5 separate regions of the Homo sapiens genome follow, and regions 1, 3, 4 and 5 are each linked to region 2. The links are contacts of gene promoters, found by promoter capture Hi-C in blood cells and fetal thymus (Javierre and others, 2016). All regions are on one chromosome and are shown on one strand. The core of a region is centred on a gene start or on the middle of the fragment in contact, and the rest is flanking DNA. Distances in the headings are between cores, read along the strand shown.

The links. The method cuts DNA at HindIII sites, captures the fragments that hold promoters and counts their contacts. A CHiCAGO score of 5 or more calls a contact.
Region 1: a contact is called between a fragment that was not itself captured here and the fragment with the promoter of ZNF140 in region 2, in 13 of 17 cell types (naive CD8 T cells, erythroblasts, total B cells and 10 more). The highest score is 8.2, in naive CD8 T cells.
Region 3: a fragment that was not itself captured here is called in contact with the fragment with the promoter of ZNF140 in region 2 in 1 of 17 cell types (non-activated CD4 T cells); the score reaches 5.1 in non-activated CD4 T cells.
Region 4: a contact is called between a fragment that was not itself captured here and the fragment with the promoter of ZNF140 in region 2, in 8 of 17 cell types (naive CD8 T cells, total B cells, total CD8 T cells and 5 more). The highest score is 10.5, in naive CD8 T cells.
Region 5: a fragment that was not itself captured here is called in contact with the fragment with the promoter of ZNF140 in region 2 in 1 of 17 cell types (naive CD8 T cells); the score reaches 5.2 in naive CD8 T cells.

What each region holds. Positions count from the first base shown.
Region 1 is chr12:133,171,780-133,176,287 of GRCh38, forward strand. No RefSeq gene overlaps it. Among named protein-coding and RNA genes, the nearest start is that of ZNF268, 7.5 kb to the right of the region's middle. The HindIII fragment of the contact is 517 bases long and covers 2,806-3,322 here.
Region 2 is chr12:133,078,403-133,083,490 of GRCh38, forward strand. It overlaps ZNF140 (zinc finger protein 140), which reads left to right and starts at 2,521. Exons shown (of 5, transcript NM_003440.4): 1 at 2,521-2,670; 2 at 2,871-2,927; 3 at 4,701-4,827; 4 at 5,064-5,088. The coding sequence starts at 2,919. RefSeq lists enhancers at 1,550-2,239, 2,310-2,509. The HindIII fragment of the contact is 18,343 bases long and covers 1-5,088 here.
Region 3 is chr12:132,999,760-133,004,453 of GRCh38, forward strand. All of the region lies in intron 1 of ZNF26 (zinc finger protein 26), which reads left to right. Among named protein-coding and RNA genes, the nearest start is that of ZNF26, 16 kb to the left of the region's middle. The HindIII fragment of the contact is 2,223 bases long and covers 1,117-3,339 here.
Region 4 is chr12:133,191,321-133,196,030 of GRCh38, forward strand. It overlaps ZNF268 (zinc finger protein 268), which reads left to right. Exons shown (of 6, transcript NM_003415.3): 4 at 169-295; 5 at 588-683. Among named protein-coding and RNA genes, the nearest start is that of ZNF268, 12 kb to the left of the region's middle. The HindIII fragment of the contact is 4,524 bases long and covers 1-4,048 here.
Region 5 is chr12:133,152,982-133,157,785 of GRCh38, forward strand. It overlaps ZNF10 (zinc finger protein 10), which reads left to right. Exons shown (of 5, transcript NM_015394.5): 5 at 2,522-4,804. The coding sequence ends at 3,987. Among named protein-coding and RNA genes, the nearest start is that of ZNF10, 25 kb to the left of the region's middle. RefSeq lists an enhancer at 2,228-3,427. The HindIII fragment of the contact is 4,637 bases long and covers 113-4,749 here.

The DNA of each region.
Region 1 (4,508 bases), core at 1,814-4,313, 94 kb after region 2:
GCATTTGTGTGATTATTTACATTGAGAGGTGAACTTTACATTGGGAGCTGAACTTTGCATTAAAGAAGGACTGAGAAACCTTTGCAGGTATTCTCTCAAAAATCAACCAAGTAAACTTGTCACTTAAAGGAAGGCAAATGACAGGGTTTTATTATTTATTTATTTATTGGTCAATATAAAAGTAGAATTTTCAAGAGAAAAATACAATTTTGGTTTTCTTTCCCCAAGATGGCTGACTAGAGGCTTTTTCAGTTCACCTTATCCACTTCTATGAACCAAACTAGTGTCTGGGCAATCACACTTTGAACATATTATCCAAGAGGGAACATAGGAGTTCAAAAGAAAAGCAAAGGGAATCTCCAGAATCTGGGGAAGAGAAGGAGGGCAGGCAGCCTGCAGGGCTGCAATTGGCCAAAAACTGGGAGTGAATCCCTGATATGGGAGAGGGTAACTGAGTGCCTTTCTGTGGTTCATTTTCCCTCTAGGGAATTGTGCAATCCAGGCCACAGGAGAGCACCTTGATCCTCCTGAGCCCTGGATCTAACTTGGGAGCAGTCAGTAGACTGTGAGGAAGAGCTGCTTTGGGAAGTATCCCATGAACTCCTCTAGACCTGGGCGTCTACAATAATAGGATGTTATTCTCAATCCTAGCTCTTATAAAGCTGTACTGAGTCCAGGGAGCTAGCAGTGGCATCAGTTGACTGTGTTAGAGACTCATGCTGGGACTCAGGGAACTGGGGCTCAAGTTGGTGAGGGACTCCTACAGCCAGAATGGAGAATCAAGTCTGGTGTGTGCTCCAGCTGCTGGCACTTGAACTGGGCTGTCCCCACCTTCTGACTGGAGCAGGGGGAGAACTTCTGGGGAGGCATGGTATTGAGCCAGGCAATGACTCCTATTGCCTGGGGCTGCATTGCAGAATAGAAGGAAACTGCAGTGACTGAATAAATATGCAGATTGGCGGACACAGTCTGGGTTAGGGAGTGAGCCTTACTGGGACTGGGATGTGAGAGGGAAGCAGGCCCCACTCCTGCCTGCCAAGGCTGCAGTGCTGAGACTGCCCTACTCTCTCCATGCTGAGCCCCTGACACAGGAGCACTTGCCCCTAAGCTGGGCATTTCACTAGGGGCCTGAGGATGGCCCCACAAGCCCTGTCAGTGTTAGTGCATGCACCTGTCATTGGTGATCTCGGTGCAGTCTTGCTTGGTCCAGCTCTATCCAGCCTTGCCATCCCTCTGAGAGGGCGTGTGGGATCCTGGCCTCTGGGGGTTTCATGGCCCAATCCACCACCTGGGACACCCAAGTACTTCTTCTAAGGAACAGAGGTTGGGCATAAATCCCACGGCTACTACTGCAGCTAGCTCATACCTACAAGTACCACCTACTGGCCTGGATGCTGGCCCACACAGCCCACTGAAACAACTCCTACTACAAGAGCACAGCACTTAGGAATGAGAATAACTGGTATGGTTTAGATCTGTTTCCCCACCAAATATTGTGTTACTTTGTAATCCCCAATGTTGGAGATGGGGCTTGGTGGGAGGTGACTGGATCATGGGGGAAGATTTCTCATGAATGGCTTGACACCATCCCCTTGGTGCTGTCCTTGAGGTAGTAAGTGGTTTCCCATGATATCTGGCTACTTAAAAGTGTGTAGCACCTCCCCCCTTACTCTGCCTTGCTCTTGTTCTGGCCTTGTGAAATGCCACCTCCCCTTTTACTTTCTGCTGTGAATGTAAGTTTCCTGAGGCTTCTCCAGAAGCTAAGTGATGCTAGCATCATGCTTCCTGTACAGTCTGTGGAACTGTGAGCCAATCAAACCTCTTTTCTTCATAAATTACCCAGTCTCGGGTACTACTTTATTTCTTTATTTATTTTGAAATGGAGTCTCGCTCTGTCACCCAGGCTGGAGTGCAGTGGCGCGATCTCGGCTCACTGCAACCTCTGCCTCCCAGGTTCAATCAGTTGTCCTGCCTCAGCCTCCTAAGTAGGTGGGACTACAGGCATGTGGCACCACGCCTGGTTAATATTTTGTGGCTTTAGTAGAGATGGGGTTTCACAATGTTAGTCAGGATGGTCTTGATCTCCTGACCTCGTGATTGCCCACCTTGGCCTCCCAAAGTGCTGGGATTACAGGCTTGAGCCACCGGCCCAGCCATGTATTTCTTTATAGCAATGTGAGAACGGACTAATACAATAACTTGTCAGAGCAGTCTTACTCCCATTGTCCATGCCACCCCAGTTTCCCAGGAGATTGTGAGCCCATTCACCTGCCTGGTGTGCTGCTACTACAACCATCATTTGAGAAAGGCACTACACCGAGGGTATTTGTAGCCAATGAAATAATACAGACTTTGCCACTGTAAATACCTAGAAGCAAAGTAAAATGGCTCTACCCGACCAACATCATAGTCACATCATTAAGAAAAAAGTGTCCCCCCAACAAAAGTAAATTCAAAAGTAAAAGAAGCAACTATTGCTTCATATGTGCAGAAATCAGTGTAAAGGTATAGGAGACATGAAAAAGCAAGATATTATGATACCCTGAAAGGAACGTAATAATTCTCCAGCAATACATCTTAACCAAAAAGAAAGTCTTGAAATGCCAGATATAGTATTCAAAATATTGATTTTAAAGATGGTCAATAAGATGCAAGAGAAATCTGAAAACTTATGCAAAGAAATCAGAAAATCAGTTTAGGATATAAATGTGAAATTTACCAAGAAGATAAGATACCTTTGAAAAAAAAACCTAACAAATTATTGATCTGAAAATTTCATTGAAGGAATTACAAAATACATTTGAAAGCTTCAACAATAGACTAGATTAAGCAGAAGAAAGAAGACAATTCTTCTGAAGTAATCCAGTCAGACAAAAATTTAAAAATAAATAAAAGAATGAACAAAACCCTCAAGACATTTAGGGCGACATAAAGTGACTGAACTTATGAATTACTGTCATCTGAGGGGAAAGAAAAATAAAAAAGGGTAGAAAATCTATTGAAATAAATAATCGACGAAAACTTACAAAGTTTAACCAGAGATTTGGACATTCAGATACTGGAGGTCCAGCAATCCTCAGAAAATTTATTGCAAAAAAGATTTCAACACAGCATACAATTTCAGACTGCTTAAAATCAAAGTAGAAGGAACTAATTTTAAAATCAGCAAGAGAAAAGCGCCTAGTCACTTACAAAGAAAACCCCATCAGACTAACAGTGAACTTCTCAGCAGAAACCTTACAGGACAGAGCAGAATGGGGTGGCATTTTCAAAGTGCTAAAAGAAAAAAACTTAGCCAAGAATTTTATATCCAGCAACATTAAGCTTCATAAATGAAGTAGAAATAAAGCCCCTCCCAGACAAGCAAACACTGAAGGAATTTGTCACCACTACACTGGTTCTATAAGAAATGCTCAAGAGTCCTAACTATGGGAATGAAAGGCTAATATTCACCATCATAAAAATACATGAATGTATAAAACTCACAGGTCTTATAAAATAATTAAACAGAGGAGGAAGACAAATAAATCAAATGGCAACACAACAGAATTCCACCAAAGCACAAAGAGACAGAGAAAGAGAAAGAAATAAAAAACTTATAACACAACTAGAAAACAACAATATGACAAGAACAAAACCTCACATATCAATATTAGCCTTGAATGTAAATGGAATAAATACTCCACCTAAAAGCTATAGATTTGCAGAATGAATTTTAAAAGATAATAAAACTATATGCTGCTTACAAGAAATTCACTTTACCTGTAAAGACACATATGGACTAAAAAAAAAAGGGGTGGATAAAGATATTCCACACAAATGGAGACCAAAAGTGAGCAGAAATAGATATACATCAGATAAAACAGACTTTAAATCATCAGTAAAGAAAAAGAAAAAGAAAATCAATATATGATAACAGGATCAAATCAGCAAGAGGATATAATAATTCTAAATGTATATGCACCCAACACCAGAGCACCCATATTCCTAAAACAAATATTTCTAGTTCTAAGGAAAGAGATAGACAGCAATACAATAGTAGTGGGGGACCTCAACACCCACTCAGAGCAGTAGACACATCATCAAGACAGAAAATCAACAAAGAAACATTGGACTTAAATTGGACTTCAAACCAAGCAAACCTAACAGATATTTATGGAATATTCTACTCAACAACTGCAGAATATACACTTTTCCCATCAGCACATGGAACATTCTCCAAGATAGACCATATGTTAGGCCACAAGGCAAGTCTCAACAAATTTTTAAAAATCAAAATCATATCAATTATCTTCTCAGACTGCAGGGGAATAAAGTAGAAATCAACAACAAGAGGAACTTTCGAAACCATACAAATATGTAGAAATTAACTATATGCTCCTGAATGATCACTGGGTCAGTGAAAAAATTAAGATTATAATTTAAAAGTTTTTTGAAACAAATGAAAATGGAAATACAACATATCAAAACCTATAGGATTCAGCAAAAGCAGTGCTAAGAGGGAAGTG
Region 2 (5,088 bases), core at 1,271-3,770:
CCCAGAGGGAGAAGCCATGGCTGTGCCGGTACCAAGTAGAGACTGGGCCGCTCCATAAGGCCACGAGGGACTCGGAGTCACATCCTCTGAGACCACTGTTTCAAGGTGACCTGGGAGCGTTGCAAGGATTCTGGTTATTACAGTTATACGAAGCCAAAGCATCAGGGGTGCTTGAATCAGAGCAACTCCATCTTGTTTTTTATTTTATTTGTTGTTGTTGTTTTGCTCTTTTTTTTTTTTTGACACAGTCTCGCTCTTTCGCCCAGGCTGGAGTGCAATAGCGCGATCTCAGCTCACTACAACCTTCGCCTCCCAGGTTCAAGCAATTCTCCTGTCTCAGCCTCCGGAGTAGCTGGGATTATAGGCGTGCACCACCACGCCCAGCTAGTTTTTGTATTTTTAGTAGAGATGGGGTTTCACCATGTTTGTCAGGCTGGTCTCAAACTTCTGACCTTGTGATTCGCTGGCCACAGTCTCCCAAAGTGCTGGGATTACATGCGTGAGCCACCACGCCCGGCCTGTATTTTTTTTTTATTTTTATTTTTTGAGATGGAGCCTCACTCTGTCGCCCAGGCTGGAGTGCAGTAGCGCCAACTTGGCTCACTGCAAGCTCCACCTCCCAGGTTCAAGTGATTCTCCTGCCTCAGCTTCCCAAGTAGCTGGGAATACAGGCACCCACCACCATGCCCAGGTAATTTTTGTATTTTTAGTAGAGACGAGGTTACACTCTGGCCTGTTGGCCAGGCTGATTGCAAACTCCTGACCTCAGGTGATCTGCCCGCCTTAGCCTCCCAAAGTGCTGGGATTACAGGCATGAGCCACAGCACCCGGCAACTCCATCTTAAATAAGAACTGGGTAAAATAAGGCTGAGGCATACTGGGCTGCGTTCCAAGACCGTTAGGCATTCTAACTCACAGTATGAGACAGCAGGTCAGCATGAGACACAGGTCATAAAGACCTTGCTGATAAAAGTTTACAGTAAAGAAGCCGGCTAAAACCCACCAAAACCAAGATGGCAATGAGAGTGACTTCTGGCTGTCCTCATTGCTACGTCTTCCACTGTCAGAGGCGGTTGAACCAGGGCAACTCTATCTTGAGTAGGGGCTGGTTAAAATAAGGCTGAGACCTGCTGGGCAGCATTCCCTGGAGGTTAAGGCATTCGTAGTCACAGGATGAGACATGAGGCTGGCACAAGATACAGGTCATAAAGACCTTGCTGATAAAACAGGTTGCAGTAAAGAAGCCGACTAAAACCGAGATAGCGATGAGAACGACCTGATTGTCCTCACTGCCCACCAGTGGCTATGGCAACGTCAGGAAGTTACCCTATATGGTCTAAAAAGAGGATGCATGAATAATCCACCCCTTGTTTAGCATATCATCAAGAAATAACCACAAAAATGCGCAACCAGCAGCCCTCGGGGCTGCCCTGCCTATGGATTAGCCATTCTTTATTCCTTTACTTTCCTAATAAACTTGCTTTCACCTTATGGATTCGCCTCAAATTCTTTCTTGTGCAAGATCCAAGAACCCTCTCTTAGAGTCTGAGATCCGGACCCCTTTCCAGTAGCAAAAGGTCTTAGACTGAAGTACTGACTCCACAGTCGTTGTTAAGAATCCTAGTTGTTTAATAGAGGCGGTCTTGGGCTCTTGCTGGGCCGCGGTGTGTTCTGGGAAGTGTAGTCACCTGAGTCTCCAGTTCCTTGTCTCTGGGCCGTGTGTGCACGCCAGCGAAGCACTGTGGGAGTCGTAGTAGGGGAGGAAAACCCTATACCCTCTGGCGTGCGGCGCAGGAGTTTGGGGGAATGTAGTCGCCAGAGCTCTGCGTTGTCTTCCGGCTTTGGGCGTGGCCACGATGCACTCTGGGAGTCGTAGTAGGGGAAGAACGTCCTCCGCTCTTTTGCGCACGGTCGCTAGAGGTTCTGGGAAGTGTAGTTGCCTGAAGCTCGTGTTCTTTGTCTTTCGATGATGTGCGCTTGGCCTCAAAGCACCCTGGGAGTTGCAGTGGGGCGGGGAAAGCCATATGCTCTCTCGCGCGGGGTCGCGGTTGTTTCTGGGAAGTGTGGTGGCCTGAGTTCCACGTTCTTCGTTTCTCCGCTAGTTGTGCGCTTGGCCGCGAGACACTCTGGCAGTTATAGGAACACAAAGGTCTGTGTACTCTTCCGCGGGGGGCCGCGGTTATTTCTGGGAAATGTAGTTGCCTAGGACCCGGGTTCTTTGTTTCTCGGCTCTGGGCGTGGGAGGATAGCCCCTATGCTCTGGCGCACCGGGCCGCGATGGCTCTGGGAATTGTAGTTGTCGCAGGCCCTCGTTCTTTGTCTCCTGGCGTTCTGGGCACGGCAGCGAGGCGCTCTGGGAGTTCCAGTAGGAACGAAAAGCCCTTGCGCGCAGGGCCGCATTGGTTTCTGGGAATTGTAGTTTCTTGAGGCCGGCGGCCTGGTTGGGGTGACGTCGGCGAGGCTTCTGAAGACGCAATTCCTGCGACGCCCGCGGAGGGGCCCTGGGGGGCGGCGCCGAGCGTCTGGCCTGTGTTGGCTGTAGGCAACGAAAGGAGCCCTCCCGGTCTGCGCCGGATGGCCCCGGGCGGTGACTCGGTCCGGAGCCCTGGAACGCTACGCCCACCTGGCGGAAAGCACCACGGAAACGCATCCTTCTGTGGCCACTGTTAGGTGAGGGGGTTCTGGGGAGGCGCGCCGTGGCAGGAAGAGAAAGCCGGCGCCAGTGGTCCAAGCGCGATCTCTCAGGGCGCCCTGCTCTCTACGTGGGAGGCGCGGAGCGGGGGCCACGGGAATCCCCAGTGCGGGAATCTAGTGACTTGGGCGCGGCCTAGCTGGCCTGTTCGCTCAGGGCTCCTTTCTCTCTCTGCCAGGTCTGCCATTTTACACTTTTCTGATCTCCTCCTTCCCTTCTGTGAGCTATGTCTCAGGTAAGCTAATGATTGATAAATATATATATATATATATATATAAATTTTTATTTTTTTTTTAAGAGAGAGACAGGGTCTCCTCCTGTCGCCCAGGCAGTGGAGCGATCATAGCATCCTGTAACCTCAAACTCTTGGCCTCAAGTGAGCCAACCCACTTGGCCTGTTTCCGCTTTTCTTTGTGAAGTGCAGCCGTGTTTTTCAGGACTTGGGACGTGGCTTTCTTTCTCCTACAACCACCTGCCTGGCAGAACCCCAGGACCCTGTCCCTTGTTCCTCCTTTTCAGGTGCTTATACTTAAGTATACATGAAGAGAGTGACAGGAAGCTATCCAGATGTGGGCGGGGTTTCTGACCTGGCTGGCATGTTTTAGGGTGAGAGGGTAGGGTGCCAGCTGTTACATCGCCTCCTCTTTCCCACAGTGTTAGAATGAGGAGTGCTTTACGTTACTCCAGCGCCCCTTTATTCATTTATTCAATATGTTTTTACTGAACCTCTACTTTCAGTGGTTCCCACAGTGTGATCCTTGGACCAGCAGTATCAGCATCATCTGAGAACGTATTAGAAATGAATATTCTTGAGTCCTACCCCAGACCTTCTGAATCAGAAACTGAGAATTTGGCCCAGCAGTCTAACAGTCCTTCCAAGTGATTCTAATGTGCAACTCATTCTAAGTCTTGAGGATGCAGAAGTGACCAAAACAAAATCTCCGAATCCTCAGAGCTCATTTTTCAGACATGACATAAGGAACACATTTTTATTTTGATTTGGCCTAAGGGCTTGGCTGGTAATTGTGCTTCACAGCAGTGGGGATAACAGGGTCAACTATTCAAAATGAGTCCCTCATTTCAGTTCCACTTCTTTATCCTACTTTTTGTCATACTTCTCTCCAAATTCAGAGGTTCTCTGAGTTTTGCTGGGGAATCCAATTTCCACCTCTGCTGCAGATCTTGCTGTGTAGGAAACAGCTGCTTTATTAGTCAACAGTCTTTAATCACTTTTTTATTAAACTTCAAAACTGTAAATTATAACTGCCATCCATCTGGGACTGCTACTAGTTTGAGACATTTTAAATTCCCATTCATGCCTTATAGATCAATGTGGATCACTCAAGTGGTGCAAAACCAGGCTGCAAAGCAAGGGCTTATATATTATTCCCCCTAACTCTGAGGGAAAGTGCTTTAGGTTCTGTCCTGGGAGGTATTACATTCTCTTCTTGCGGAATCAAGATTCTTTATTGCTTATCCTCCTTGTTCTGTGACATTGCTAAAATTACCACTAAGTTTCACAGGTATTTCTTTAGGATTAGGGATAACTGTGACAAACTTGAGACTGTATGCCCCATTTGAAGGGTGGTGCTGTTATCTGCTGTAGCGAATTATTACCCTGAAGAAATTCTGGCTGAATTATATTAAAATAGGCTGGTATTAAGGAAAATATACATTGTTTATTAACATAAAGGAATACTGTAAAATCTTAAGAATTTTTACAACCAATGCCAAAAATCCATATTGTTCATGTGTATAATCCTTTATTTTGAATAAAATTGTAAATTATCTCAGGACAGATAATTTATGTTTTTCTCCTTTTCTCCAGTTATACAACAAAACACAAGAGCTAGGCTCTTCATTATATAATTACTCAGAATTCTGAAAACTCTCACTGTTACTACTTAGACACATTGCCTAACCTCCACAGTGAGACTCATTTTATTCCTTGATGAGGGAGTTTGGGGGCATGCGTGCTGGTCATGCAAATATCTGTCCGTCATTTCAGGGGTCAGTGACATTCAGAGATGTGGCCATAGACTTCTCCCAGGAGGAGTGGAAATGGCTTCAGCCTGCTCAAAGAGATTTGTACAGATGTGTAATGTTGGAGAACTATGGCCATCTGGTCTCACTGGGTAAGTATTCTTCTTCATCTCCCTCAAGGCAAAATTTGACCGTTAGGGTGGCTGTTATAATTATCTGGCTGAATATTCCCAAGAGAGGTATGGGGTTTCTTAAAATTAGTTTTAAGATGGGGACGTAACTGCACCTTATTTTTAGACATTTTAAAAACTTACATCTGACATTTCCTTTGTGGCCCCTCTTAGGATTCAATGACTGATCTTGAATTTATTTCATTTTCTGCAAGCAGGTCTTTCCATTTCTAAGCCAGATGT
Region 3 (4,694 bases), core at 978-3,477, 79 kb before region 2:
CTCAGCTCACTACAACCTCCACCTCCTGGGTTCAAGTGATTCTCCTGCCTCAGCCTCCCGTCACCATGCCCGGTTAATTTTTTTGTATTTAGTAGAGACAGGGTTTCACCATGTTGGTCAGGCTGGTCTCAAACTCCTGACCTCAAATGATCTGCCCACCTCAGCCTCTGAAAGTGCTGGGATTACAGGTGTGAGCCACTGCACCTGGCCTCCTAGGTTCTCTTTTTGTGTGTCACCAGTATTATGCCTTTACCTCATTTTTCTCATAAATCCTATGGCTTTTTATGCAACTTTGCATGGTGTGATTTTTTGCAGCATATATGTCCCATTACAGTAGAACTGTTTATCATAATCTCTTGTGAAATTTTAAATCTCTTAAGAGTTTTGGACTGCTTCTTGGTCATAAAATTTTCTTTTTAAATTTTCTTTTGATCATGCTAGGTCAATTCAAAATTTTAACAGTTATTTTGTATTTTACTTTTATTCTTTTATTTATTTATTTATTTATTTTGAGTTAGAGTCTTGCTCTGTTGCCCAGGCTGGAGTGTAGTGGCACGTTCTCGCTCACTGCAGCCTTCACCTCCTGGGTTCAAGCGATTCTCCTGCCTCAGCCTCCCGAGTAGTGGGGACTACAGGCATGCGCCGCCATACCTGGCTAATTTTTTTTTTTTTTTTTTTTTTTTGAGATGGAATCTCGCTCTGTCACCCAGGCTGGAGTGCAGTGGCACGATCTTGGCTCACTGCAAGCTCCGCCTCCAGGGTTCACGCCATTCTCCTGCCTCAGCCTCCCGAGTAGCTGGGACTACAGGCGCCCGCCACCACACCCAGCTAATTTTTTGTATTTTCTGTAGAGACAGGGTTTCACCATGTTAGCCAGGATGGTCTCGATCTCCTGACCTCGTGATCCGCCCACCTTGGCCTCCCAAAGTGCTAGGATTACAGGTGTGAGCCACTGTGCCCGGCCTAATTTTTGTATTTTTAGTAGGATAGGGTTTCACTATGTTGGCCAGGCTGGTCTTGAACTCCTGATTGCAGGTGATCCACCCACCTCTGCCTCCCAAAGTGCTGGGATTACAGGCGTGAACTACCATGCCTGGCCTGTTTTCATTCGTATCAAGCTTAAAGAAATAGTAAAAGGCTTTAAATAAAATAGACAATAAGCCTCCTGGTCTACCCGCTGCTCCTGGTCTACCTGCTATCTGCTGTGCACCTTCCCTCTTCCATCCTGTGTCCCCAGAAGCAGCCACTTTGGGCTCCGTTTCGTCTTCTGCTGTCGACCTCCAGCTTCTAATATGGTCACATCGAAGTGACTTGTTTCATGTTTCTTCTCCCTCAGATTTAAAGTAACCAGCTTGATAAGCACCTCAACGTAATAAGGGCACAGTAGTGGCTTCATTTTTCTCATCACAGCCTCAGGCTTCCTGTCAGCCCTTCCCTAGTGCTCGTCGTGAGGAGAGCTGATGATGCTCTGGTCACAGCCTTGTTTGTTATTGACTCTCAGTTACTTTCAGGTATGGGAAAGTTCAGTCCACACTCTCACTCCAAGCTCTTGTACCTCCCCTCATTCTAGCCTGCAGAGGGGAGATGGAGGAGGCTTGTCTGTATTCCCACTTCATTTACTTGTTGCCCTCCGACGGGGGCTCCTTCTGGGTTGGGGTGGGAAAATCAGTGGTTAGAGAAAAAGACACAGAGTCTCCTGTTGTGCGGTGGTCAGTACCCAGAGTTATGACAGGCATCAGTGGGGCTTGGTTGGAGCCTCTGACAGGGCTCTGCCCTGCAGTTCCATGGTGTATGTGATTCTTTCTCTCACTGCATGCAGACTCACCCAGAAGTCCACTCACTGCCTCTTCCCCTGGGGTCTCCCTCCCTGCAGGTAGTGCTGCTGAGGAGGAGCCTGCTAATGAGCTCAAGTGTCAAGTTCGGGAATCTTCTGGGTGTTCCTTGGGCCCAGGGAAACAGTGCCCTGCCTGAGGTGAGCCGCAGGGAGGCGGGGCCCTGTTTGAGGTGAGCTGCTGAACCCTCACTCCCCAGCTGCCTTTTGAGAGTCCCGCGGCAGTCTTTGCCTTCAGAATTTTTCAGAGGAAAGCAGTTATTCGATCCTTGTTTACTTAAATTCTTAAGTACATGTCAGTTCCTTCTGAAAATTACCCAGATTTAGCCTGGTCGGCTGTTGCAGATGTCCAGGTTGTGTGTGGGGCACTTGCACAGTCCCCTTTTCTTAGAGCCCCTCCTGTTTGAGAGGATGGATACCCGCTTCCCTTTCTTCTCACGTGTTCTTAGCAAGGTCACTTTTCTCCTTCAGTGACTCACTTCTGTGGACTGTTTTCTGGTTGGATCTCCCCCATCTTCCGTCATTCATGGACCAGTTATTCACTATCTTCTTTCTCCGTTTGTTATCCCCAGGCTTCTCCACCTCCTTAAAGGGAAAGTTCTGTAGTTTGCTTGGCCAGGCTGCTTGGTGTCCTCCTGGCCCCCCTTCTGTCTCTCAGCGTGCCATGCTGTCTCTATCAGGTTGTGTTCTGGCTCTGTCCCCACAGGATGCCCAGAATCCAGCCACCATTTATCATCCCCATCGCTGTCACTTTGGCCTACACTGCCTTCTTCCACTGGACTAACACAGTTGCCTTCTAACTGGTCTCCCCGGTATCTCCTCTTACACAACCCCCTCCCTCTTCCACAGCAGTCAGGATGATCTCAAAATACCAGTCAGAGCGAGAAGCCTTTCAGTGGCTTCTCACAGCGCTTGCATTTCTGCCTAGGTATAACCTCATCAGAGAGCTGCCCTGATCACCGTGTCTGAAACAGCACCTGTGCCTCCCTCTGTCTCATGACTCTGTCCCTTACCTGCTTGGATTTTTTGTTTGTTTTTTGTTTTTTTGTTTTGAGATGTAGTCTTCTGTGTCGCCCAGGCTGGAGTGCAGTGGTGCGATTTCTACTCACTGCAACCTCCACCTCATGGGTTCAAGCGATTCTCCTGTCTCAGCCTCCTGAGTAGCTGGGGTTGCAGGTGTACACCAGCATGCCTGGCTAATTTTTGTGTTTTTAATAGAGACAGAGTCTCACCATATTGGCCAGGCTGGTCTCGAACTCCTGACCTCAGGTGATCCACCCGCCTTGGCCTCCCAAAGTGCTGGGATTACAGGTGTGAATCACCATGCCCAGCCTGGATTTTGTTAAGAGTACCTAGCACCCCTGGCATGTTAGGTAGTCATGTGTTGGCTGAGTAACACCCACCCTGGAGACCCTAGGTGGGTGGGACCTGGGAGCCTAATTCATATACTGCTTTTAGCTGTTTACAGTTCACACCTCATTCTCATCATGCAGGATGACTGTTCCCAAAGCTTTTGGGGCTTCTGTGGGAGAGATGGTTTGCTGTGCATCAGCTTACCTCTGGGAGAGCTTTTGCTCACGGAAGTCAGTTACCAGATTTTTGGCTTACTGTTTATTAAAAATTTATCAAAATATCATATTGGCTTCTGTTTATGTAGTTCCCTTTTCTTTTTTTTTTTTTTTTGAGATGGAGTCTCGCTCTGTTGCCCAGCTGGAGTGCAGTGGCGCAATCTCGGCACACTGCAAGCTCTGCCTCCTGGGTTAACGCCATTCTCCTGCCTCAGCCTCCCGAGTAGCTGGGACTACAGGCACCCGCCACCACGCCTGGCTAATTTTTTGCATTTTTAGTAGAGACGGGGTTTCACCGTGTTAGCCAGGATGGTCTCGATCTCGTGACCTTGTGATCCGCCGCCTCGGCCTCCCAAAGTGCTGGGATTACAGGCATGAGCCACCGCCCCTGGCCTCCCTTTTCTTTTAGAGGTGTGTTTGTGTGTACTGTATTCCTGTATGTAATTTAAATGGGTCTCAGAGGAGGATACTGATAATCATGTTTAAATCTTCTCTCCATTCTCTCTGTTCCTACTTTCAAATCATGTTTAGTCTCCATCTCAACCTCCCTAATGGGCATAAATCTTACAACTTTGTAGGTGTTTTGATTTGTGAAATTATATATTATAGAAAAGCCATCTAGCATAGAAGAATAATGCCCGAGTATTGATGAGCCAGGAGGGATGGTGAACCACGTGGAGGTGCCTGGGCAAGAGGAGTCTGTTGGCTGTAGTGAGACCGTCATGCTACTTGGGATGTATAAATAAGAAATGCCTTTAGTTTAAGTCCCTTGAGTTAAACTGATGTAAAAATGCAATTATTTATGCTAATTCTGTGAGTATCAGCTTTCATTGATGTAGCATTTACCTGATATCTTTCTTCATTTCTTTATTTTCTAATTTGTATTTTTTCTTTGGTGTATCTCATAAGTTTCAAACTGTCTTAGTTTTGTTTTCAGTATGTTTCTTCTAACATGAATGTGTTCTTTCTCAGTCGGTTTTTTCTCTACTGTTTGGGAAGCTGTACTTGTCTTCCTCCCTGCTCCCTCCCTACATTTTTAGTGCTTGATTGTCTTTAAGTTGTTCACAGGCACACTGAACGTTTCCCTTTAAAACAAAGTCTAAACAGTTGCATTTTCTCTTTTCCCAAGTGAAAGATGTTTCTTTATACCTTCATTTTTTATGATTCTCATCTATTTGCATCACACACATGCTTAAATTGTAGCTGATTATAATTTTAGTTCAGATGTGTTTGAATCAATAGATTTATGTTCTGCTGATTTCAGTGCTCACCGTTGTATCCAGCTTCCCACCAAT
Region 4 (4,710 bases), core at 537-3,036, 110 kb after region 2:
AAAAAAAAAAAAGAAAGAAAGATGACTGATTTAATGCACATTGATGGATGTTTTCAATACAATTTTTGTTCTCACAAAGTTAAACATAAATAATGGACACCCTAAACAGCTAGTTTTCCACAAACCTAGTAAAATAACTTGAAATTGGATGAGCATATTGTATTTCAGGGACCTTTGTCATTCATGGATGTGTTTGTGGATTTTACCTGGGAGGAGTGGCAGCTGCTAGACCCAGCACAGAAGTGCCTGTACAGGAGTGTGATGTTGGAGAACTATAGCAACCTGGTGTCCCTAGGTAAGTGCTGCCTCCCTGAGGAGGAGTGTGCTCGATCTCCAGGCTTCTTCTTGGTTGCTGAAAACTGGAGGGCTTCTATGAAATACTTAGTGATTTTGGACTTAGATTTTAAGGCCAGATTTTCTTAGTTCCCTATTGGCAGCAGAGTATGCCAGTTGAATGGTCTTTACTTTGCCAAATTGCAAAAAGGCAGCTTCATCATGCTACCTCCAAACCAAATCTTTCCCGTTCTTCAGAATCTCTGAATCTCAAGCTGTTTGTTCCAGGTTGTCTGTGATTTTTCTATTTATAGGGTACCAACACACCAAACCTGATATCATCTTCAAGTTGGAACAAGGAGAAGAGCTGTGTATGGTGCAGGCCCAAGTTCCAAATCAGACCTGTCCAAGTGAGTGATGGAGACAAATCTTTTCTTCTTTATTTAGAATTAGCATGAATTCCAATGTGATGTGCTCCTCTTGTTTGTACTTTGCCTCGTGTATTACCATGCACTTTTTTTTTTTTTTTTTTGAGACAGAGTTTCACTTTGTTGCCCAGGCTGGGGTGCAGTGGCGTGATCTCGGCTCGCTGCATCCTCTGCCTCCTGGGTTCAAGCAATTCTTCCGTGTCAGCCTCCTGAGTAGCTGGGGTTACAGTTGTGCGCCACCATGCCCGGCCAATTTTTGTATTTTTAGTAGAGATGGGGTTTTGCCGTGTTGGCCAGTCTAGTCTCGAACTCCTGACCTCAGGTGATCCGCCTGCCTTAGTCTCCTAAAGTGCTGGGATTACAGGCGTGAGCCAGCGTGCCCGGCCTTACCATCCACTCTTAATCTTCTCGTTGGCACCCTTATTTCCCTCCTTACTCTATCTTGGTGATAGACTCATTTCATTGTGCATTTTAGCAAGCCTTTCCTCTTTCCTTCACTTGATGTGACTCTCATGATCCTTCCCTTTCCTTTCTACATTTTGAAAATTACATTTAAATCCCTTACACATAAATTCAACAACCACAGTCCCATCTTCCTTCTTTTTGAAACCTGTTAGTAGATTCTACCCCTTTTGTGCTTCTCTATGCTAATGGATTTTTTTTTTTGAGACGGAGTCTCATTCTGTCGCCCAGGCTGGAGTGCAGGGGTGCAATCTCGGCTCACTGCAAGCTCTGCCTCCCGGGTCTCCTGCTTCAGCCTTCCAAGTAGCTGGGACTACAGGCACCTGCCACCACGCCCGGCTAATTTCTTGTATTTTTTGTAGATACAGGGTTTCACCACATTAGACAGGATGGTCTCGATCTCCTGACTTTGTGATCCGCCCACCTCGGCCTCCCAAAGTGCTAGGATTACAGGTGTCAGGCACCATGCCTGGCCTTGCTAATGGCTTTAACATTATCACTCTATACCTTCTGAGCACATTCCTTTGTCATGTGATAGTGTCCATGATCCTGCAGTGACACCTGTTGATCCTGCTCTTCTGCTGCATGACCGAGCACTTTTTCCCTTCATGTTCCACTGGGCTTCTCTTGCTCTTCTGAATCCAAGGGGTCTTTATTCTTCATTTCCCTCATATAGTGTAACTTTTAAAAGACTTACGCATTAGCTGAGCATGGTGGTGTGCACCTGTTGTCCCAGCTCCTTGGGAGGCTGAGGTGGGAGGATTGCTTGAGCCCATGAATTTGATGCTGCAGTGAACTATGGTTGTGCCACTAGACTCTGGCCTGGGTGATAGTGAGATCTCATCTCAAAAAAAGAAGACTTCTGTCTCAGTCTATTTGTGTTGCTGTAATAAAATACTATAGACTAGGTAATTTTATAAAGCACAGAAATTTATTTCTCACAGTTTTGAAGGCTGGAAAGTCCAAAGCCAAGGTGCTGGCAGGTTTGGTGTCTGGTGAGGGCCTGCTCTGTGCTTCCAAGATGACGCCTTGTTGCTGCATCCTCTGGAGGTGAGGAACACTGTGGGACAGAAAGAGGGGCAAAAAAGGCCTAAGATCATTCCCTCAAGCCCTTTTAGAAACGACTAATCCATTCATGAGGGCACAACTTAATCTTCTCTTAATACCACCACAATGGGGAGTAAGTTTCAACATGAGTTTTAGAGGGGACACATTCAAACCTTAATAACTTCCATTCGGAAGATTGAAGCTCTTTTCCTCTACTGGTAATTGATAGCCATACTGATCTTTTATCTGCCCTTTGGTCCTGGTTTTGATTGATTCACTGGCATCTCCCTCATACCACTCCCTGGCCTCGTTTTCAGAAACTGGAATCGTCTCTCCCACTGCTCCACCTACATACCACCTTCTTTTCATCTTTCTTCTCTTTGTTTATCCTGTTTTTTAAATTCTAAGTTTTTTTTCCTAACACTGGGGAAGTCAGCTTGAATTTCCTTTCTGTGCAGGGCTCCCTTACTAATTTTGGTACAGTGTTGTTAGCATTTTGTTCCTTTAAAAAGAGGTCTTTTAAAACCCTCATCGTCTCAATTCCCACTCAAAACGAGGCCAGTATTGTCATGTCTGGATTGTTGTATTTAGCTAAATTTATTCATTGTACTCTTTTTATATTAATTCATCTTCGATGTTACTGTCAGATATATTTCCCTGAATACCCCATTTATTCTATCACTAGCATGACAGCATAAATCAACAGTTAGTCCTTGCATTACTAGGATTGTTTCAGCTGCAGTTGTTGGTCAATCCCAGACCAACTAATTTAAGCAGAAGTGATTTATTATTACACATCACAAAAGGTCCTGAAGTGGGGCAGCTCCAGGATCAACTAAGTGATTGACTCACTCAATCGCCAAGGGCCCATCTAGGTATGTTGACATTTTCCTTAGGTTACCTTCTTTAATGGCCCTCAGATGGCTCTTGCAGTTCTAGTTGATGCCTGTGGATATACCAGTGGCCAATGAAATAAAAAGGGCTGTTTCTTCACACACGAGTCTGTCAGACAGGAAAACTCATCCCAGGAAGTCCCAAGCAGACTGATCATGTTCAACAGGCTAAATTTTTGTCACATGCCCCTGTCTGAGGGAGGCTCTGGAAAGGGAAATGGGGCTATCTCCGTTGGCTCAGATAAATTATGCTTTACCTTTTGGAAGCGGGACTGGGGATAGAAATGGGTCTTCACTTCCCTGACTGAAGCACATCACCTAGATGGGGGTGGAAAAAAATCAGGTTACTGCCAGCCAGGAACAGGGCAGAAGAACCACTGGGTAAGCAGCACTGTCTGCCTTCACCTTCCTTGGCCAGGCAGCACCTGTCACACCCTTCTTCCCAGCCATCCATCTTCAGATATTTGCTGCAACCCATATGTTGGTTCTTGTACTACATTAATACAAGTCTAGGATCCTGTTCCCATTCAGAGTGGGGAGTAGTTCTTTATGGTCTATAGACCTATAATTAAAGATAAATTAAACACATCCAGCCATCCAAATGTAGAGGGATAGAGACAAGTCTAGGGTCCCCCAGTTCCAGGAGGGCAGCAGCAGTGAACACCACATGGTAGCCACTGGTTTACACTGTTGGCCTTGTCACAATTTCTTTCTGTGGCAGTGAAATAAGTTACCTGGTGAACCTTTGTTTCTGCTCTCCAAGCATAATTTCCTTTTCCGTCATCATCTGTGATTAAACTCGAGATGGTCGTTGGGGAAATGGCTTTTCTGTAGCTTCAGAATCTCAATTCTCTTGGTGTATATTTGGGTTCCCAGTGATTGCCTTTGGACCACAGCCAGGAACCATATTTAATATGGTCTCGAATCATGTTTAAATAATCTTCAAGCTTAAGAATGCCTGATCATGTTCAACAGGCTAAATTTTTTACAGGAACCATGTGCCAGGTGCAGTGGCACATGTCTGTGATCCCAGCAGTTTGGGAGGCCAAGGTGGGAGGATCACTTGAGGCCAGGAGCTTAAGACCAGCTTGGGCAACATAGTGAGACCCCAGCTTTACCAAAAATTTTTAAAAATTAGGTGGTCATGATGACTGTTGCCAGTAGTCCCAGCTACTTGGGATGCTGAGGTTGGAAGATCAGTTGAGTCTGGGAGGTTGAAGATGCAGTGAGCAATGATTGCACCACTGCACTTGAATCTGGGTGACAGAGAGGGATCCTGTCTCTTTTTTTGTTTTTGTTTTTGTTTTTTTTTGAGACAGAGTCTCGCTCTGTTGCCTAGGCTGGAGTGCAGTGGTGCGATCTCGACTCACTGCAACCTCCACCTCCCAGGTTCAAGCGATTCTCCTGCCTCCCCCTTCCAAGTAGCTGGGATTACAGGTACGCGCTACCACACCTGGCTAATTTTTGTATTTTTAGACAGGGTTTCACCATGTTGATCAGGCTGGTCTCGAACTCCTGACCTCAGGTGATCCCGCCTCAGCCTCCCAAGGTGCTGGGATTACAGGCATGAACCACTATGCCCGGCCAACCCTGTCTCTTTAAAAAAA
Region 5 (4,804 bases), core at 1,181-3,680, 74 kb after region 2:
CAAAATGGTATCTCAAAGCAAGTCTTTCTTTGGGACCATGGGAGGAAATATTGTTATATTTTCTTTTTATTACTTACCTTCTTTCTTTCTTTTCTATTTTGTTCATCTAGTAAGCTTTCCTGAATGTCTGTTGACAAGTATCCAAAAATAACAATTATTAACTGGACCCAGCAGTTTATATTTTTATTGAGAATTTATTGTCAAAAGAAATACTCAGACTTCATGGGCTTAAAGGCATGGAGTTTTACAGAATCTACAAGGCTGTTAAATTCATTATCAAATCAAAAAATATAATGAATGATGATTTTTAAAAATCAGATGATTAGTTGATTGATGGGTCCAACAGACTTCGACAATAACTTACTGGCATGGTTGTATTACATAATATGTGGAAGATTTTAGGATATTAATAAAACACCTCATTCTTATGACCAAACTCTCCACTCAGAATTGTCCTCCATAAGTGCTCAGCACCCCCCTTATCATAGATATTCTTCATAGAATCTTCCAGTTGGCATTTGTAGGTTGAAAAACTTCTCCATAAGATTTTCTGATGTTCTGGGTTGGGGAAAGGGAGGAAAGGGTGGTGTATTTCCTATTAAAAATCATCAGGATGGGGAAGAAACTAGGAACTAACTAAGTGGTAAGGGACAGGACTGGTCGGGGTGGGATTGTATAAGGAAGTCATTTAGGGACCAGGCCTGGCACAGGGATCATTTACCAGGTGTATTAGTTTCCTGGGGCTGCGGTAACAAAGAACCAGCAGTTAGGTGGCTCAAAACAACCAAAATGTATCATGTCACAGCTGGAGGCTGTTAAGTCTAAAATGAAGATGTCAGTGGGGCTCTGCTACGCTTCTAGGAGAGGGTCTTTCCTTATCTCTTCCAGGCTCTGCTGGCCCCAGGTGTTCCTTGGCTTGTGGATATATCATTCCAGTCTTGGTCTCCATGTTCACATGGTCTCTTCCCCTGTGTCTGTGTCTTTTTTATGGAGGACCACCCTCATACTGGATTAGGGGCCCATCCTATTTCTGGTACTACCTCATCATAACTAATTACATCTGGAAAGACTGTATTTCCAAATATGGTCATATTCTGAGATACTGAGGATTAAAACTTCAACATACCTTTTTGTCGGCGGGGGGGATACAGTTTAACCCATAATACCAGGTAAGAGTGGAATGTCACCCCACTTATGTAAGATGAAGTGGTATCATCAGTGTATTTTTTAGGTTTGGGATTATATGTTTTACCTGAAAGACATTGAGAAACAGATAAAGCTCTTATTCAAGAGAAATAATTTGCAGTAATATACACAGGTAGCAGATGGCAGAAATTCTAAGAGCGTATGGGTCAGGCTTCAGATTCTAAGTTCACATCTTGTGGTAGTAGTCCTATCAGTTGTTAAGTCCTTATGTTTCAGAGCGAAGAAATCAAAAAAATGAGAAGAATGATGATGATTATTGTAAATCTTATTGCTTTGACCATAAATGTGCCAGAGACTGTAATAGGCTCATGCTTTATATAATATAATAATCTTAAATAACAAATACTGTCATCCTTAGATTACAGATAAGCAAAATGAATTCTTCAAAGTTTAGCAACTCGTCTAAATTCACCACTAGTCGTAATATAAAACTTAGAACTTGCATCTTGGTAACTTTTGTGCAGTTACTCTTCCACCTTGTCATGTAGCTGCTCTGAGAGGTCTGTTGTGTCACTCATCTGGGTGTTATTCTATAGTGCTTCTGTGATTTGGATAGAAAGCATTGCCTGACGTATGGCTGCATTCATGGTTTAAGAATACTAAATTGGGCCGGACGCACTGGCTCACGCCTATAATCCCAGCACTTTGGGAGGCTAAGGCGGGTGGATCACCTGAAGTCAGGAGTTCAAGACCAGCCTGGCCAACATAGTGAAACCCTGTCTCTGCTAAAAATATTAAAAATTAACCAGGCATGGTGGCAGGTGCCTGTAATCCCAGCTACTTGGGAGGCTGAGGCAGGAGAATCATTTGAACCTGGGAGGCGGAGGTTGCATTGAGCCAAGATTGTGTCATTGCACTCCAGCCTGGACAACAAGAGCGAAACTGTCTCAAAAAAAAAAAAAAGAGAGAGAATACTAAATTGATAGTAATGTGAAGAATGTGTGTCAGGGGAAAGTCCTGACAACAAGTAGACAGGTGAGGAACTTAGACTGTTAATATCTGGATTAGAAAATGAGAGTGCAGTCCTTTTTATGGAATTTCCCTTATTTCTACCCTCACCATTGATACCCTGATCCCATGTGTCATGCTGTGTCCTGTGGCTTCTCCTTACTCCTTTTGCCCTTTGTGAGTACTGTATACCACAATGCATTTATTGTTTACCGCTCCATTCTTCCTTTTCTCATTCTCTATCAAAGTTATAAAGCCATATTTGAAAGCAACTGTGTACATCTTGCATACTTTGTCTCCACATACATCCTAGCATTCTCACCTTAATACTCTGTTTAGTTACACAAACATTTTTCATTTCTTTCAGATTCAGAGACTGCATTTGAAATCAAATCATCAGTTTCCAGCAGGAGCATTTTTAAAGATAAGCAATCCTGTGACATTAAAATGGAAGGAATGGCAAGGAATGATCTCTGGTATTTGTCATTAGAAGAAGTCTGGAAATGTAGAGACCAGTTAGACAAGTATCAGGAAAACCCAGAGAGACATTTGAGGCAAGTGGCATTCACCCAAAAGAAAGTACTTACTCAGGAGAGAGTCTCTGAAAGTGGTAAATATGGGGGAAACTGTCTTCTTCCTGCTCAGCTAGTACTGAGAGAGTATTTCCATAAACGTGACTCACATACTAAAAGTTTAAAACATGATTTAGTTCTTAATGGTCATCAGGACAGTTGTGCAAGTAACAGTAATGAATGTGGTCAAACTTTCTGTCAAAACATTCACCTTATTCAGTTTGCAAGAACTCACACAGGTGATAAATCCTACAAATGCCCTGATAATGACAACTCTCTTACTCATGGTTCATCTCTTGGTATATCAAAGGGCATACATAGAGAGAAACCCTATGAATGTAAGGAATGTGGAAAATTCTTCAGCTGGCGCTCTAATCTTACTAGGCATCAGCTTATTCATACTGGAGAAAAACCCTATGAGTGTAAAGAATGTGGAAAGTCTTTCAGCCGGAGTTCTCACCTCATTGGACATCAAAAGACCCATACTGGTGAGGAACCCTATGAATGTAAAGAATGTGGAAAATCCTTCAGCTGGTTCTCTCACCTTGTTACTCATCAGAGAACTCATACAGGAGACAAACTGTACACATGTAATCAGTGTGGGAAATCTTTTGTTCATAGCTCTAGGCTTATTAGACACCAGAGGACACATACTGGAGAGAAACCCTATGAATGTCCTGAATGTGGGAAATCTTTCAGACAGAGCACACATCTCATTCTGCATCAGAGAACCCATGTGAGAGTGAGGCCCTATGAATGCAATGAATGTGGAAAGTCTTACAGCCAGAGATCTCACCTTGTTGTGCATCATAGAATTCACACTGGACTAAAACCTTTTGAGTGTAAGGATTGTGGAAAATGTTTTAGTCGAAGCTCTCACCTTTATTCACATCAAAGAACCCACACTGGAGAGAAACCATATGAGTGTCATGATTGTGGAAAATCTTTCAGCCAGAGTTCTGCCCTTATTGTGCATCAGAGGATACACACTGGAGAGAAACCATATGAATGCTGTCAGTGTGGGAAAGCCTTCATCCGGAAGAATGACCTCATTAAGCACCAGAGAATTCATGTTGGAGAAGAGACCTATAAATGTAATCAATGTGGCATTATCTTCAGCCAGAACTCTCCATTTATAGTTCATCAAATAGCTCACACTGGAGAGCAGTTCTTAACATGCAATCAATGTGGGACAGCGCTTGTTAATACCTCTAACCTTATTGGATACCAGACAAATCATATTAGAGAAAATGCTTACTAATAAATATGGGAATTTTTCACAAAGAGCAATGACTTTATTTTGCATTGGAGAACTCCTGGAGATAAGCTGTACAAATTGAATCTATGTGGAAATGCTTTCAGTCTTGTTACTATCCTATTGCACATTAGAGAATTGGTCCTGGAAGGGAAAGAAACCACAGATTTTATTTCAGTACACAAATCCATCAGATTTTCTTCTTTTCATGAATTCCTACAGAAGTAATTGGCCTGAGAGCATTCTTGACCAAGTCTTAAATGCTAGAATCTGAGAAGGAATTATTAAATAGGTGAGTTGTTGAGCGAGAACCCCTTCATTTGAAAAGAAATGAGTATGCTACTATAGGGAGAGTTGTTGCTGAGAATTAAGAAATGATACAGTTAATGCAACAAAAGATGGAAAATAATATTTCAGTCAATATGTCATTGTTTTCTTGACTATGTCTCTCTTCTGGGACATTTAGTAGTGTTTGGTATGTTTTATGTGTCTGGTAGAAACCATATTTTGGTTAACAGCAAGAAAAATGCTTATAATGTAGTACAATTAAAAACAACACATCTCCACTACCAGTGCTAACCCATTTTTAAGTACATTTGCATGTGGGCAAGAATTGAAAGTATACAGATAATTGAACAGAATTGATTTGTTAGATAAGGAGATTTTGACTGAGTTTTATAGTCTGTTTAATGTTGCTGTAATAATTATTTTAAGAAACTTTTAAATATTGTAAGAGGATATCTAGTTTCTCTATTCTACCATCAAAGAAGCTTTTGAGTACCACCTGTTAATGAGCTTTCCTATTCTAAATTGTTTTGGGTCA